2 separate regions of the Homo sapiens genome follow, and region 2 is linked to region 1. The links are contacts of gene promoters, found by promoter capture Hi-C in blood cells and fetal thymus (Javierre and others, 2016). All regions are on one chromosome and are shown on one strand. The core of a region is centred on a gene start or on the middle of the fragment in contact, and the rest is flanking DNA. Distances in the headings are between cores, read along the strand shown. Region 1 holds the start of LINC03042 (long intergenic non-protein coding RNA 3042). Region 2 has its middle 110 kb from the start of TACC1.

Evidence for each region. The method cuts DNA at HindIII sites, captures the fragments that hold promoters and counts their contacts. A CHiCAGO score of 5 or more calls a contact.
Region 2: a contact is called between a fragment that was not itself captured here and the fragment with the promoter of LINC03042 in region 1, in 1 of 17 cell types (M0 macrophages). The highest score is 5.7, in M0 macrophages.

Annotation. Positions count from the first base shown.
Region 1 is chr8:38,525,129-38,532,528 of GRCh38, reverse strand. LINC03042 (long intergenic non-protein coding RNA 3042) reads left to right here and starts at 3,867. Exons shown (of 3, transcript NR_167676.1): 1 at 3,867-4,206. RefSeq lists enhancers at 2,294-3,115, 3,189-4,156, 4,213-4,262, 4,024-4,318, 3,701-4,900 and 4 more and a silencer at 1,024-1,318. The HindIII fragment of the contact is 18,415 bases long and covers 1-7,400 here.
Region 2 is chr8:38,668,907-38,676,306 of GRCh38, reverse strand. No RefSeq gene overlaps it. Among named protein-coding and RNA genes, the nearest start is that of TACC1, 110 kb to the left of the region's middle. The HindIII fragment of the contact is 3,250 bases long and covers 2,225-5,474 here.

The sequences.
Region 1 (7,400 bases), core at 2,618-5,117:
CTTATATTTTTATGAAGATTATATGAGTTAAAATGCAAGATGCTTAGTATTATATAATGCTGGGCACATAGCAAATACAAGTTTTAGGAATTTTTCTTAATTAATTTTTTTCTTTTCTTTTCTTTCTTATTTATTTATTTATTTATTTTTTGAGATATGGTCTCCCTCTGTCACCCAGGCTGGAGTGGAGTGGCACAATCATAGCTCACTGCAGCCTGGACCTCCTGGGCTCAAGCAATCCTCCCACCTCAGCTTCTGAGTAGCTGGGACTACAGAAGCCTGCCACCACACCCAGCTAGTTTTTTAATTTTTTGTAGAAAGGAGTCTCACTATGTTGCCCAGGATGGTCTGGAACTTATGGCCTCAAACAATCCTCCCACCTCAGCCTCCCACAGTGCTGGGATTGCAGGCATGAACTACTTACTGCACCGAAACTCTGCTGTCCACTCTGTGGTGGCTTCCCCAACACTGTCCCCGTGTCTAATTGGGCACCCCATCCTGAGTTTTTACCTTGCTTAGTGGGTAGCTTTCTTTCTTTCCTTTTTTTTTTTTTTTTTTTTTTTTTTTTTGATACGGAGTCTCACTCTGTCATCCAGGCTGGAGTGCAGTGGTGTGATCTCGGCTCACTACAACCTCCGTCTCCCGGGTTAAGCGATTCTCCTACCTCAGCCTCCCAAGTAGCTGGGATTACAGGCACCTGCCACACCCAGCTGATTTTTTTGTATTTTTAGTAGAAATGAGGTTTCACCATGTTTGTCAGGCTGGTCTCAAACTCCTGACCTCAGGTAATCCACCCCCCTCAGCCTCCCAAAGTGCTGGGATTACAGGTGTGAGCTGCTGCACCTGGTCCTTGACTATACTATTTTCTTATTTACCTTTGTATTCCAAATGTCTGGCAATGGTAGGAATATGAGTCATTACTAACAAACAAACAAATGAACAGGTGAATATCCCTTCTTTCCCCCAATAAACCTACCTGTGTTCTTTCTCCCCTTCCTCCTTCCTCTTCCCAAGGGCCCAGTACTCTAATAGACTGGCTTAAGTACCTCTAGTCATGGAAGATATACTTCGCAACACTCTTCTTGTATAATAAAAGAAACCCTTCTGTAGAAGTCACTCTTGAAACAAAAGAAAGAATCGCTAAGGGTGGAATCTTAGATCCTAAGGCACACCCCCCACTCCGCAGCTATTATCTCTCTCTGCTTAGTGCAGGACCATCTCAACAAATGAGAAACACTGGAAGATAATGTGGGAACAGAGTTCTCAGGGAAAACGCCGCGAGTGTTCTCTTGAAAAGTTGTATGTGAGACACATTTTTAAAAACACAAATCATATTCTGAATGAATAAAAGAATGTTTTTAATTTACTGGAGAAACTGGCTTGTTAAATCCTATTGTGAATTCTTTCTTAAAACCGGAGTAAGGAATTCTTTTGTTAAGTAAATATTCAAGCCCTTCCCTGCCAAAGGGCTTTTGAAATCTTTGCTGTAATGATGCTGATGTTTTCTGTGTTTATATGTCAAATGCCTGGAGCTTAATTGTTAATGGGTAAATAAGAGACGCCACTAGGTCCTTGCCAAGAAAGGCCCAATAGCTGAGGTTGGGAGAACAATGGCTCCACAGGACTCCCCCAGAGAGGGAAGAAGGGAGAGGACAGTTAGAGAAAGAGTGGCTCTATTCTCTTGTAGATGTGGCTGTTGGAGGAGCCAAGGAAGAGACCAACCTGGGGGATGAGAACACAGGCACGTGTGCTGGAGTGGACCTGAGCCTGAACAAAGGTATCGGGCACAGCTCTGGCTTTGCTTCATTTCTCCTTCTTGCCAGTTGATCAGGAATTCCTGCTGCTCTCCAGAAAACCATCAGAAGCATATGTTGCTGTTGGAATCACCACCCACCAGTGGGCAGAAGAAAGCTGGGGTCACAGGCTAATTTCCCCAGGCAGGTGGCCTGGGTTGAATTCCACGCCCGCCACTGTAGGCTAATCTGCCCCACTTTAGGCATGTTATTTAACCTCTGTCCTTGGAGTCCTATGCAGCAAAATGGGGATAAGAATGCCTACCCCATAAAAGGTTTTGTAAAAATTAATTAATATTGTAGAAAAATGCTTAGAACCGTGTCTGATGCATAGTACATGCTATGTGTGTTAAATATTTAACTGACAGTTAAGGCCAGACACATTGGCAAAGTAACCTTAAATCCAAAAACAGCAGACCAATTGTAAGGAAAGGGCTAACTGGAAATTTTTATAAGTCTGTTTGCTGAAGAAGCCTTTTCCAGATTTTTTTTTTTTTTTTTTTTTGAGACAGAGTCTCGCTCTGTTGCCCAGGCTGAAGTGCATGGTGCGATCTTGGCTCACTGCACCTCTGCCTCCTGGGTTCAAATGATTCTACTGCCTCAGCTTCCTGAGTAGCTGGGATTACAGGCACGCGCCACCACGCTGGGCTAATTTTTGTATTTTTAGTAGAGACAGGGGTTTCACTGTTGGTCAGGCTGGTCTCGAACTCCTGACCTCAGGTGATCCACCATCCTCAGCCTCCCAAAGTGCTGAGATTACAGGCGTGAGCCACTGCACCTGGCGCCTTTTCCAGATTTGAAGTTGCAGGGAGAGCTGAGGATATTCACAGGGCAAGGACTTGAGGCAGAGAGACGAAGACTCGGGTCTGCCAAAGCAAGGTCATTCCCTCTGGATTCTAGTTCTTCAGATGGATAGAATGAGGTCAAAGATAAAGCTCTCACCCAAGCAGGAGGAAAAAAACGCTCTCAAGGATTGCCAGACTCTAAAAGTTTCAGAGTTGAAAAGGGCATTTCAAGCTATAAGCAGCCAGCCAAGAGCTAGGCACAGGGTGTCTCAGTTCTTGGCATTGCTGGGCCAGCATCTATACTTAGGGAAAATCCACATGGAAGGACCCCTTCTCCTCTCTCCAGGAAAACACTCAGCTTAATGACAGCTGGGTCCAGAGCAGGGGCCTAGCAAGTCCTTGTCTGGGCCTCTGGTGCCGGAGTCAAAGGAGGTCCTGATCCAGCCTTGGGATTCCAGCAAGGACTTTACCCCATATTCAGGAGGGGAATCTACAGGTCTCCCTCAAAGACCCTCAGGACATTCTGTGGGCAGCCCCTCCACCATCTCCTCGCTGCTGTTCAAATTCTCACTTTTATTTGTGTGCCACTTTTAATTTGTCAAAGCACTGTCACATCTACTAGCTCACCTGATCTATGCCACCACATCAGAGGATACAGAAAGGTGGTATTAGGACATCTGACAGCCAAGGAAGCAGAGACTCCAGTGGTTAATGTCTAGCCCAGGACCACAGCTACTAGCAGAGGCTACACCTATACCCCTGACTTCACATCACACTCTGCCACACTCCCTCTCCTGTGTGAGGGCTCCCCCAGGAAAAGAGGAAAGACAGGAGCTATTCTAGGCAAAGTAACCTTAAATCTGAAAGCAGAAGATGAATTGCAAGGAAGTGCAGCTCCAGGACGTGTTCCCCTATCTTCCCATCAGAACTCAGCCAGCAGCCATGGACACAGGCCTCTCTTTCCTCTGCACTGCTTCCCCACCCTGGTTCCCGCTCTGGGGTAGGTCCCTCCCAGACCATTATGGCTGGGACGTGCAGCATCTTTTTTCTCTGCTTCTCCAGTAACAGCTGGTTCTGCTCAACTCCCAAAGATGATTTTCAAGAACCCCAACACTACTATCTGCCTGGGCTGCCAGAAAGAGAAAGGGCACCCTCAGAGACACTGAAGACCACCCTCCAGAAGCCGCCAGCACTTTCTATCATGTGACTAGCTCTGGGTGCTCCTTATCTAGCGAAAGGGGCTGGCTCAAATGGCACAGATATTGAAGATCTTCCTGAAGAAGACAGGAAGAGATGCTCAGGTCAGGGAGGGAATGAGACCCCTGGGGAAGGGACTCCTCCCAGCTGAGGAGTTGATTAGAAGCAATCTTGGAGTTGGCAGGAGCCTTAGAGACTGCCTGAGCCAGTCCGGGAAGCTGGCTGAGGAGCTTGGGAGCAAGAGACTAAAACCAGCCAAGTTTGGGACAGAAGGGAAGGAAAGGGTTGAGCAGCGAACAGAGAGACAAAGAACAGGCAGTTCCAAAGAGCCAAGAATGCAAATCATTTGCAGACGCCGCTGGCGAGAGCCTCCACCAAGGCTGCTGTGGGGGTGCCTGATGCCACGAGCACAGCCACTTCTACACGTCACGGTGAGCGTGAGCCCATGCATGTGAGTGTCCCCGCTGAGTCATTCCATGTGTGTAATGATTGTGTCAGTTGTGAGTCACCAATTGTGTGTCAGTCAGGGCGGGGTGTGTGTGTGCTCAGTGCACAAGCACGTGAGGGCTGCCAGTGCCCAGAGTGACAGTGGAATGTGAATGAGAGCCAGAGAACCCGAGGAGCTCAGAGCACTCCCAGGGGGAAGCTGTGTTTAAAGGGCACCACGCTTCATTCACACCGTACATCACACACCACATTTCTGAACACGTTCCAGAGAAAGCCATCTGTGCCCGCTTCCTGCTGAAACCCCCTATGGAGCAGCAGTGCTGAATTCTTCAGGCTCACGGGGTTGTTATCAGAGTCAGAGATGGCCACAATCTTAGAATCCTGCATTTCAAGCCCTTCGTTTTGCAGAGGGAGGAACTGTGGCAGAGAAAGCTGACACAATGGTCCCAGAGTCACAGAGCTAGCTGGTAGAAAAGCCAGGTGTGGACCCAGGTGTCTGTCCAGACTTCCCTGCCCAGGACTCGGTATGTCAGCACAAAGTGGGTCCTTTTTCCTTTTTTCAGCAGGGATGTGATGACATCACTTCTTTTAACTAAAATGCACCCAGATCTTCCCATGAAATGAAACCCTGATGTCACGTCCTAAAGGCTGGATTTGATGAATAGCCCAAAAGGCAAAGTTGGGGCATCTCTGGCCAGACGGTTCTAGACTGAGAGTCATTTGACCTATTTTCCAAGAGCCTTGCCCCACCCAGGTCAGGAGGAGTCCACAGGGAGACCCATTCTTAGGTCTCTAGGTCCAAGATTGGCCAGGCACTTTGGCAGCCTTGATGCTGTGTGATTCAGAAGCTGCTTATGAGATGTTTGCGGATGTCTCACACAGGACTCCTGACTCGTCATCCTGCCACCTTCCTGGTGGCCATTTCACAGCTCAATTTCTCCTGCCCCACAACAATGAAAAAATAAATGAAAGTAGGGGATTTATTTTAGCAGTTTTCAAATTGAGTATCTCAAAGGGTTTAATAGGTAAAGAGCCTAACCCTATTAACTAGTAAGTTGAGGTTTGGGGATTATCTGTTTCAATTACCCATTCCATTCATTCTTCTCAGATGGCTCAGAGTTGACCTGAACTTCAAAGGGATCACTTCAACCACTTATTTCATAATAATTATTTCATAATAATTAAGTAGTTACTATATACACAGCACTGTTGAGGCCATTCAATAGGCACAGACACTGCCCTACATCCCTGGAGAGCAGAGATTTATTATCTCATTTATCAGAACTTCAAAGCCCTTTCACTCCAATTACAGCTTGTCACTGACCATGGAGGCGGCTGAGGTGCTCAGGGCACATGAGGCAAGGAGAATGGGAGGGGCAGAGAAATCACTGCTCCAGACTAGATCTGGAGTGGAGTGGTCTTACATTTGGGCCCAGGTTCTACATTCATAAACTGGTGCTTTTCCCAACAGGGCTCTGCTAAAAACATGCCCTGGAAAGGGAGGTAAAAGGATGCCTTCTCAGCCGAGCGCGGTGGCTCACACCTGTAATCCCAGCACTTTGGGAGGCTGAGGGGGGGGTGGATCACCTGAGATCAGGAGTTCGAGACCAGCCTGACCAACATGGTGAAACCCCGTCTGCACTAAAAATACAAAAATTAGTCAGGTGTGGTGGCGCGCACACCTGTAATCCAAGCTACTCAGGAGGCTGAGGCAGGAGAATCGCTTGAACCTGGGAGGCGGAAGTTGCAGTGAGCTGAGATCGCGCCACTGCACTCTAGCCTGATTTTTTGAGACTCTGCCTCAAAAAAAAAAAAAAAGGATGCTTTCTCGTGTGGCAGACTGACAGACAGATTAAGGGTTGATATAGTAAGTGTCCTTCATATATGACACATGGGCCAAAAGAGTAGAATCACCAAATGTTTCCTTGAATATAAAAAAATATATTTGCAAGGGTGGTTATGTCAGCATTATGTGTAATTGCAGAAAGCTATAAAGGACCTGAAAAATCCATTGATAGGACATCAGTTAAATAAATCAATCATGGTACAACCATACACTGGCAGATAAGCAACTATAAAGAAGGAGTTAGATCTACCTACATTGACCCAAAGAGAGGCACAGGATTATTAGGTTTAAAAAAAGGAAAAGAGGCCGGGCACAGTGGCTCACTCCTATAATCCCTGCAGAGGCAGGAGGATCACTTGAGCCCAGGAGGTCAAGGCTGCAGTGAGCTATGATTGCGTCACTACACTCCAGCCTAGGTGACAGAGCCAGATAAAAGAAAGAGAGAGAAAGAAAAGAAAGAGAAAGAAAGAGAGAGAGGGAAGGAAGGAAGGAAGGAAGGAAGGAAGGAAGGAAGGAAGGAAGGAAGGAAGGAAGGAAGGAAGGAAGGGGAAGGGAAGGGAAGGGAAGGGAAAGGAAGGAAGGAAGGAAGGGGAAGGGAAGGGAAGGGAAGGGAAACGAAGGAAGGAAGAAAGAAAGGAAGGAAAGAAAGGTCGGGCTCGGTGGCTCACGCCTGTAATCCCAGCACTTTGGGAGGCCGAGGCGGGCGGATCACCTGAGGTCAGGAGTCCGAGACCAGCCTGACCAATATGGAGAAACCCTGTCTCTACTAAAAATACAAAATTAGCCGGGTGTGGTGGCGCATGCCTGTAATCCCAGCTACTCCGGAGGCTGAGGCAGGAGAATCACTTGAACCCGGGAGGCGAAGGTTTTGCGGTGAGCTGAGATCATGCTACTGCACACCAGCATGCCAGCCTGGGCGACAGAGCGGGACTCCGTCAAAAAAAAAAAAGAAAGAAAGAAAGAGAGAGAAAAGAAAAGAAAGAGCAAGGAACAGAATATGATCTTATTTTGCATTAAAAAATTAAAAGAGGTATCCTATAAGTAAATACGTATGTTTATATATTTGCATAAGTAAAAAAGAAAATAAGAAAATGTATACAAGTGGGAAAATGTGTAGTATATAAAAAATGTAGAGGGATACACGTGAAGCTGGTTATAATGTTTACTTCAGAGGGTGGGGTTAAAATGGGTAAGAAAATTAATATTTTGTATACATGTTTTGCCTTATCCATATAAGTTACAAATATGGATAAGTCAAAACATATTTAAGGCTTATACATACAAACTTTATACTTTATAAAGTTTATATTTATAAATATAATTTTTATATTT
Region 2 (7,400 bases), core at 2,600-5,099, 140 kb before region 1:
TTCACTGCATTCTGACTTTCTGGGTTGCTGTTGAGAAATCCAATACCTTTTTGATACTTGATAATTTGCATGTAACTTTTCTCTCTCTCTCTCTCTTTGAAAGCTTGTTGGAGCTTTTCCTTGATCCCAACATCCTGAAAATTCATGATGATGTACTTGGTGTAACCCTGTTTTCATCCACCGGGCCAAACACTCAGGAAGCCCTTTCAATCAGGAATCACAAGCCCTAGAGTCTGAGAAGTTGAGTTCTTTTATTAATGATTTCCCTCCTTCCATAGACTCTGTTCCCTCTTTTTGGACCTATTGTTTGGATATCAAATCCCCAGGATTTGTCCTCTAATTTTCTTATCTTTTTCTCTCCTATTTTCCAATTCTTTCTCTTTTTGTTCTACTTTCTGGGGATTTCTTCATCTCTCTCATCATTCTTTTCTATTAAGATTTTCATCTCTAATGTGTTTTTTAAATTCCTAAGATCTCCTTCTGACCTCAGCATGTCCGTTGTGTAGAGCACCGTGTTGTTAAGAGTGAAATATCTTATCTCCTCGAGGACTTTGGAAACCACCCAGGGAGGAGGGCTATGTGTGGCTTTGCTGTTTAGATATGAAACCACCTCTGGGACTCACACACACCTGGATAAGGTGACTAGAGCACCACCTCCAAGGGACACGGGGGAGACTTTACCAACATAATACATAGACAAAGATAGTATACAACCCAGAGATGCTATCTCTTCTCACTATGCAGGAAGCCTCACATCCACAGCACCATCTGCCTCGTGTGACCTGCCACCTGGTTAGTGGGTGACAGTGCCCCATCCTCACTTCCAGCAGCAAGAGCCTGACCATCACGTCTTCTTAGGTTGGCTCTGACTCTGGCTGGGCTGATGGCCATGTTGGCTGAACCAAGAGAAACCTTCACATTCCCAGATGTCCCAGAGCCCCCCTTCCCATCAGGTCTGTGTTCAGACCCCTCCTTCTCTTCCACTCATTCCAGCCCCCAGCCCCCATCCCATTCAACACAACCTATACCCAAAAGTAGAGAAAGATATGGATAAAGAGAAGGAGGGAGACAAAAGAGCAGGGGGGAGGAAATATGTTTATTACTTTAGAGGAAAGGGAAAGGAATTGGGAGAGTTCCCACCTAAAAGTGTCTGTGTTCTTGGGTGGATTAGAAGGACTAACATGGCTGAAGGCCAAAGGAATGAGGGCATGGAAGGTTCTGGGGAGTGTGGTGGAGATGACAAGCAAGGGGGTGTCGTCGTGAGGGAGGGGTGTGTGGGGAGGAGGGGAATGAAGGTAGGGGACCAATGATAACTCTAAATACAGGAAGTAAGGGGGGACTGAACAACGTCACGCAGTTGAGAAGCAGATTTAGCAGGCAGGGAGTGGGAAGAAGAACGGTGTGGTAGGCTGAACAATGGCCCCCCAAAACACATCCACATCCTCGTCCCTGGGCCCTATTAATGTCATCTTATTTAGCTAAAGAAGGACTTTGCAGATGTGGTGAAAGATCTTGAAATGAGGAGATTATTTTGGATTACCCATTTGGGTCCTAAATGCAATCATAGGTGTCCTTGTAGAGAAAGATTTGACACCAGAAGAAGAAAAGGCAAAGTAACCACAGAGGTGGAGATTGGAGTGCTGCAGCCTCCAGCCAAGCAAGGCCAGCAGCCACTGGAAGTTGGAAGACACAAGATCCTCCCCTGCCGCCTCCAGAGGGAGTGAGGCGCAAGCCCTCTCAACACCATGATCTCAGCTCAGTGATGCTGATTCTAGATTTCTTGTCTCCAGGACTATGAGAGCATACGTTTCTGTCATTTTAAGCCACCAAGCCAGTGGAAAATTGTTACGTCAACCACAGGAAACCAATACAGCAGTTAGGAAGATAGGGCCACAAAGGAGAGCTCCAGGGTTCCACATCACACAGGAGAGTCGCTCTGAGTGAGAATAAAGTACCACTTGTAGCTTTCTGCTTGTTGAAAGTGGAGTGGAAGTGAAGTGAAATGGAAATAAACATCATAAGCACTTATCCTGTGCTAACAACTGGCTGGGCATCCAAAATGCATTATCTCATTTAAATTTTATAACCACCTCTTAAGATAAGTTTTCTTATCCTTTTTTTTTTTTTTGTAGGCAAGGAGATTAAAGTGCAGAGTGATTAGGAACCACAGTGATCATGGAAATGGAATTTTGAAGTCCCATCCATCTATCTCCAGAGTGAAGCTTCTGTTCACACCATCAGGTGACTCTGAGGCTCAGATGATGAATAGGATCACAGCCTGGGCATGGAAGGGGATGGCAGAAGTTGGAGTAGGGAGGAGACTAATATCTTAATAAATGCTAAGCTCTTCGACTGAACTTGAGACCCCCTGTGTGTGCTTTGAAAGGGTGGGAGGGGAGTGTTGGGTCCTTCACCTGAAAGGGTTTCAGGGACAGTGGTCTCATCAGGGAAAAACCAAGTTTGTTATGACAAGGAAGCAGATAGGACACATTCCAGAAAAGGCTAAGGATGCAGAGAAGTTTCTTGGCTACGAAACGGGATATTGGAGAGGGTACAGTGAAAGCCATCAGAAAGGCAGACACTCTGAAAGCCAGCAAAATGGCCAAAGGGTGGCATGGAAATACTCACTATAAACCCATAGAAATGATTTATAGATAAAAGAAAACTCTTAAAATGCATGGACAACAACAACAAAACACAAACAACCTAATTTAAAAATGGGCAAAGGACTTGAATAGACATTTTCTCCAAAGAATATATACAAATGGCCAATAAGCACATGAAAAGATACTAGACTAGTCATTAGAGAAATGCAAACTAAAACCACAGTGAGATACCACTTCATATCCATTAGAATGATTGCTATCCAAAAAAACCCAAAAAAACAAAAAACCCACAGAAAATAAGTGTTGGTGAGGATGTGGAGAAATTGAAAATTGGAACCCTTGTACACATTTGGTAGGAATGTAAAATAGTGCAGCTGCTATGGAAAACAGCATGGCAGTTCTTCAAAAAATTAAAAATAGAATTACTATATGATCCAGCAATTCTACTTCTGGGTATATACCCAAAAGGATTGAAAGCAGGGATTCAAAGAGATATTTGTATACCATGTTGTAGAACAGCATTATTTGAAATAGCCAAAAAGTTAATGAACCCAAGTGTTCATCAACAGAAGAATGAATGTACAAAATGTGGTATTTATGTATATGAAATGAACCATTATTCAGTCTTAAAAAGGAAGGAAATTCTAACATGTGCTGTAACATGGAGAAGACATTTTGCTGAGTGAAATAAGCCAATCACAAAAGGGCAAATACTGAATGAGACTGGGTATCAAGAGCACTCAAATCCACAGAGACTGAAAGCCAGGGGCTAGGGGAGGGGAAATAGGGAGTTATCATTTAATGGTACAGAGTTTCAGTTTTGCCGGATGAGAAGAGTTCTGTGGCTCGATGGTGGTGATGGCTGCACAACCGCACGAATGCACCTAATGCCACTGAACTGTACATTTTAAAATGGCTAAGATGGTACTTTTTTTTTTGAGACAGGGGCTCACTCTGTCACCCAGGCTAAAGTGCAGTGGTGTGATCACAGCTCACTGCAGTCTTGACCTCCCAGATTCAAGTGATCCTCCCACCTCAGCCCCACAAGTAGCTGGGACTACAGACGTATGCCACCAAGCCCAGCTAATTTTTAATTTTTTTGTAGAGATGGGGTCTCACTATGTTGCCAGGCTGGTCTCAAAATCCTGGGCTTAAGCATTCTGCCCTCCTCGACCTCCCAAAGTACTGGGATTACAGGCGTGAGCTATGATGCCTGGCCAAGATGGTACATTTTATGTTATGTGTATCTTAACACAATTTTTGAAAATAAAATTAAATAAGTTAACAAATAACGCATGGATGAGCTTGTAAGGTAGAAAAGGAAGTCCCCAGATGCTGAAGTGAAGAGGAAGCTGAGAGCTGAAAACAGTGGTCGTGGGGAGACAATCAGGTCCAGTTATGGCCAAAGGCTTGGCTTTTAACACCCATGCAGGGACAGGAGATGAGGCCTCATGCCTGGATAAAGTGACTGGTTGGAACTGAGTCCCCTACATAAAACCCAGATGCTCTGAGAAAAGCCAACCATCAATCCAGAAAGATATTAAGGAAGCTCATCTCTACCCTGGCTCCAGCTGGGGGGAAGAACAGACCCCTGTGAAAAATCAAAACCCCAGCCATGTGCTTGGCCCAAGTTTAGAGTCCAAATATCTACTAACTGCATCAGAAGGGAACCCCAAGCCAAGAAATTAACATAAAATTGGTTCTTAGCTCCAGGATTTGACACAGCCAAAGCCAGTGCAGCCCTGCAGAGCTGGAGGATGACCTGAGCATGGAACACACAAAGGAAAGAGGCAGAGGACAGGCAGAGCCCTGAGAAGCCACATCCTGGCTTCTGAGCTGCTTTCCAAAGGCCCTGAGTTTGACAGAAATCCAAACATGTCTCGTCTCAGACGCTTTCCCCTTTAATTTTCAAATTGATGTATATTTTAAGAGAAATTTAATCCATGTGTCTCTGAATCATGTACAACAAACTCCTCTAACAGTCACTCCATGTTGGGAGCTTGGGAGATTTTTGTGAACTTGGAACAACTTGGTACAAGATGCTCTTTTTTAAAAAAAGAAAAAGATTCTGTTTCCAGTGTCTGTCTAGTTCTCCACCCCAGATCCAAGACTTTTGTCAGATGCTAGGAACCTGCTGCACGAGGACTGCGCACTCCTCTTCCTCCTCTTCCTTGGTGGTCAAAGGGAACTCATCCAAGCCACAGGGGTGCAGGGCTTGGCTCTGTCAAAGAAGCAGTGTGGTCCTTGAAGCTAGCACTACCAGGGCTTTCATTTGGTTCTCCAGCACAATGGCTGTATTTGAGGAGGGCTGGCAAACAGAACACCAGTTTCCAAACCCTGCTTCCTCAGGTGGCCAAAGTGCTCCACCCAAACTCATTATACGGTGGCAAACCTCACAGCCCCTTGTTGGTGGTTCATACTCTCCTGCTAACGGGAGCCTAGCTCCGAAAGCCTCCAGGAGAGGAAAGTATTCAGCCAGGATGGGCTGCGCAGTATTTCCCTCCAATCCTTCTCAAGTTCTGCTGGCTGAGAGCACAAGGTCCCAGCTGACCCCACTGCTTCAGCAGTCCTGCGGTGTACCTCATTTCCAGGAATCCTACCCAGCCCTGGGGCAGAGAGTCTTGTCACGTATTTACCCACAGACGCTCCAACATGTAGAACCTCTGGAAAGAATCTCCAGGCTGGGATTTTGGACCCCTACAGTTTCTACATTTCCTTTGTAACTGGTAATGATATACGTGTCCGTTTTTTTTCAGTGGTGCAATCATAGTTCACCGCGGCCTCAAACTCTGGGCTCAAGCGATCCTCCCACTTCAGCCTCCTGAGTAACTGGGATAATAGGCATGTGCCATCATGCCCTGATAAGCTTTATTTTTAAAATTTTTTTGTAGAGATAGGGTCTTGCTATGTTGTCCAGGCTGGTCTCCAACTCCTGACCTCAAGCAATCCTCCTGCCTTGGCCTCCCAAAGTGCTAGGATTGCAGGCATGAGCCATCACACCTGGCCAGGTGTTTCTTTAAAGTTTATCTTCTTTCTTACTTTCACATTCTTGCTCATTTAACTTTTTAGCTGATTTTGTGCTATGGCTGCAAAGGCCAATTAAAAGTAAGAGTCAAACCTTTTCACGTAAAACCATCATAGGAGCTAAAAACCACCTCAGGGCTGACAGGTTTTTGACATAATTTTCTCTCCTTCAGGGTTGGAGTGACTCAAAGTAACTTGCTTTTGTAGCATAATTTTAGGGGCGACCTTCTTCTCAGTAATCTCCCCTAGTGGGCCCTGCTATTCATTCCATTGCTGTTATTAGCAATCCCGCCAGTGTTAAGATTACTGGTAGAGGAAAAGAAGGAAATTTGAAATACTCTTGGAAATTAAAGCACACCAAGTCCAAAGCAGCTTGAGGCAAATGAGTCAACTGGAGCAGGAAGTCCAGCGAGAGTGATTTAGCAGAAAGAATTCTGGGTTCGGAGTCCAAAGAAGAGGGGTTTAATTCTGACTCAACCCCCTTTGTCTGCCTTACTTCTCTCATCTCTAAATGGGCGACAACTATCCCTGTCTCATTATAAGGCTGAGATTAAGACTTAAAATGTTTTGGACGTGGTAGCTCATGCCTGTAATCCCAGCACTTCGAGAGGCCAAGTTGGGCGGATCACTTAAGCTCAAGACCAGCCTGGGCAACATAGAGGAAACTCTGTCTCTACCAAAAATACTAAAAATTATCCGGGCATGGTGACAAGCACCTGTAATCCCAGCTACTTGGGAGGCTGAGGTGGGAGGATTGGGTGAGCCCAAGAGGTAAAGGCTGCAGCGAGCTGAGATAGTGCCATTACACTCCAGCCTGGGCAGCAGAGTGACACCCTGTCTCAAAGAAATAAAATAAAATAAAATATTTTAAATGTGTGTGGTTCGTGGGGTGGTCCGTGAGCCTTTTCTGTAATGACTCTGAATATCAGGACATAATGAGAGCAGTGAGCATGGGCTCAGGAAGGATGGAGCTCCAGGATCTGCCAGAGCCCACACTGTGCTGAGCCCCAATGAACTCTCTGAGGGCTGGTCTCCTATTGAGACAGCAGGGACCCCCACTCTTAGTGGCCTGCATGCCTCCACCACCCCCAAGCATGGAAATAAAAGAAAGTCTTAAGTTTCTTCAAGGAAAATTCCAGACACCGAACTAGTCCTGAGAAGTAAATGAGCAGTATGCTAAGCAAGAAGGTAATAGTAGCCTAAAACAATAGCAATGAAGCTAGAATTGTAGGATATTTGGTTCCCCTGTAGAAACTAAACATAACATCTTTTTTTCTTTTTTTTAAATTTAATTTTATTTTACGTTCTGGGGTACATGTGCAGGATGTGCATGTTTGTTACACAGGTAAACATGTACCATGGTGATTTGCTGCACTTATGAACCCATCACCTAGGTTTTAAGCCCCACATGCATTAGCTATTTTTCCTGATGCTCTCCCTCCCCTCAACAACCCTGACAGGCCCCAGTGTGTGTTGTTCCCCTCCTTTTGTCTATGTGTTCACATTGTTCCGCTCCCACATGTAAGTGAGAACATGTGGTGTTTGGTTTTCTGTTCCTGTATCAGTTTGCTGAGGATAATGGCTTCCAACTCCATCCATGTCCCTGCAAAGGACATGATTTCATTCCTTTTATGGCTGCATAGTATTCCATGGTGTAGGTGTACCACATTTTCTTTATCCAATCTATGATCGATGGGCGTTTGGGTTGATTCCATGTCTTTGCTATTGTGAATAGTGCTGCAATGAACATACACGTGCATGTATCTTTAT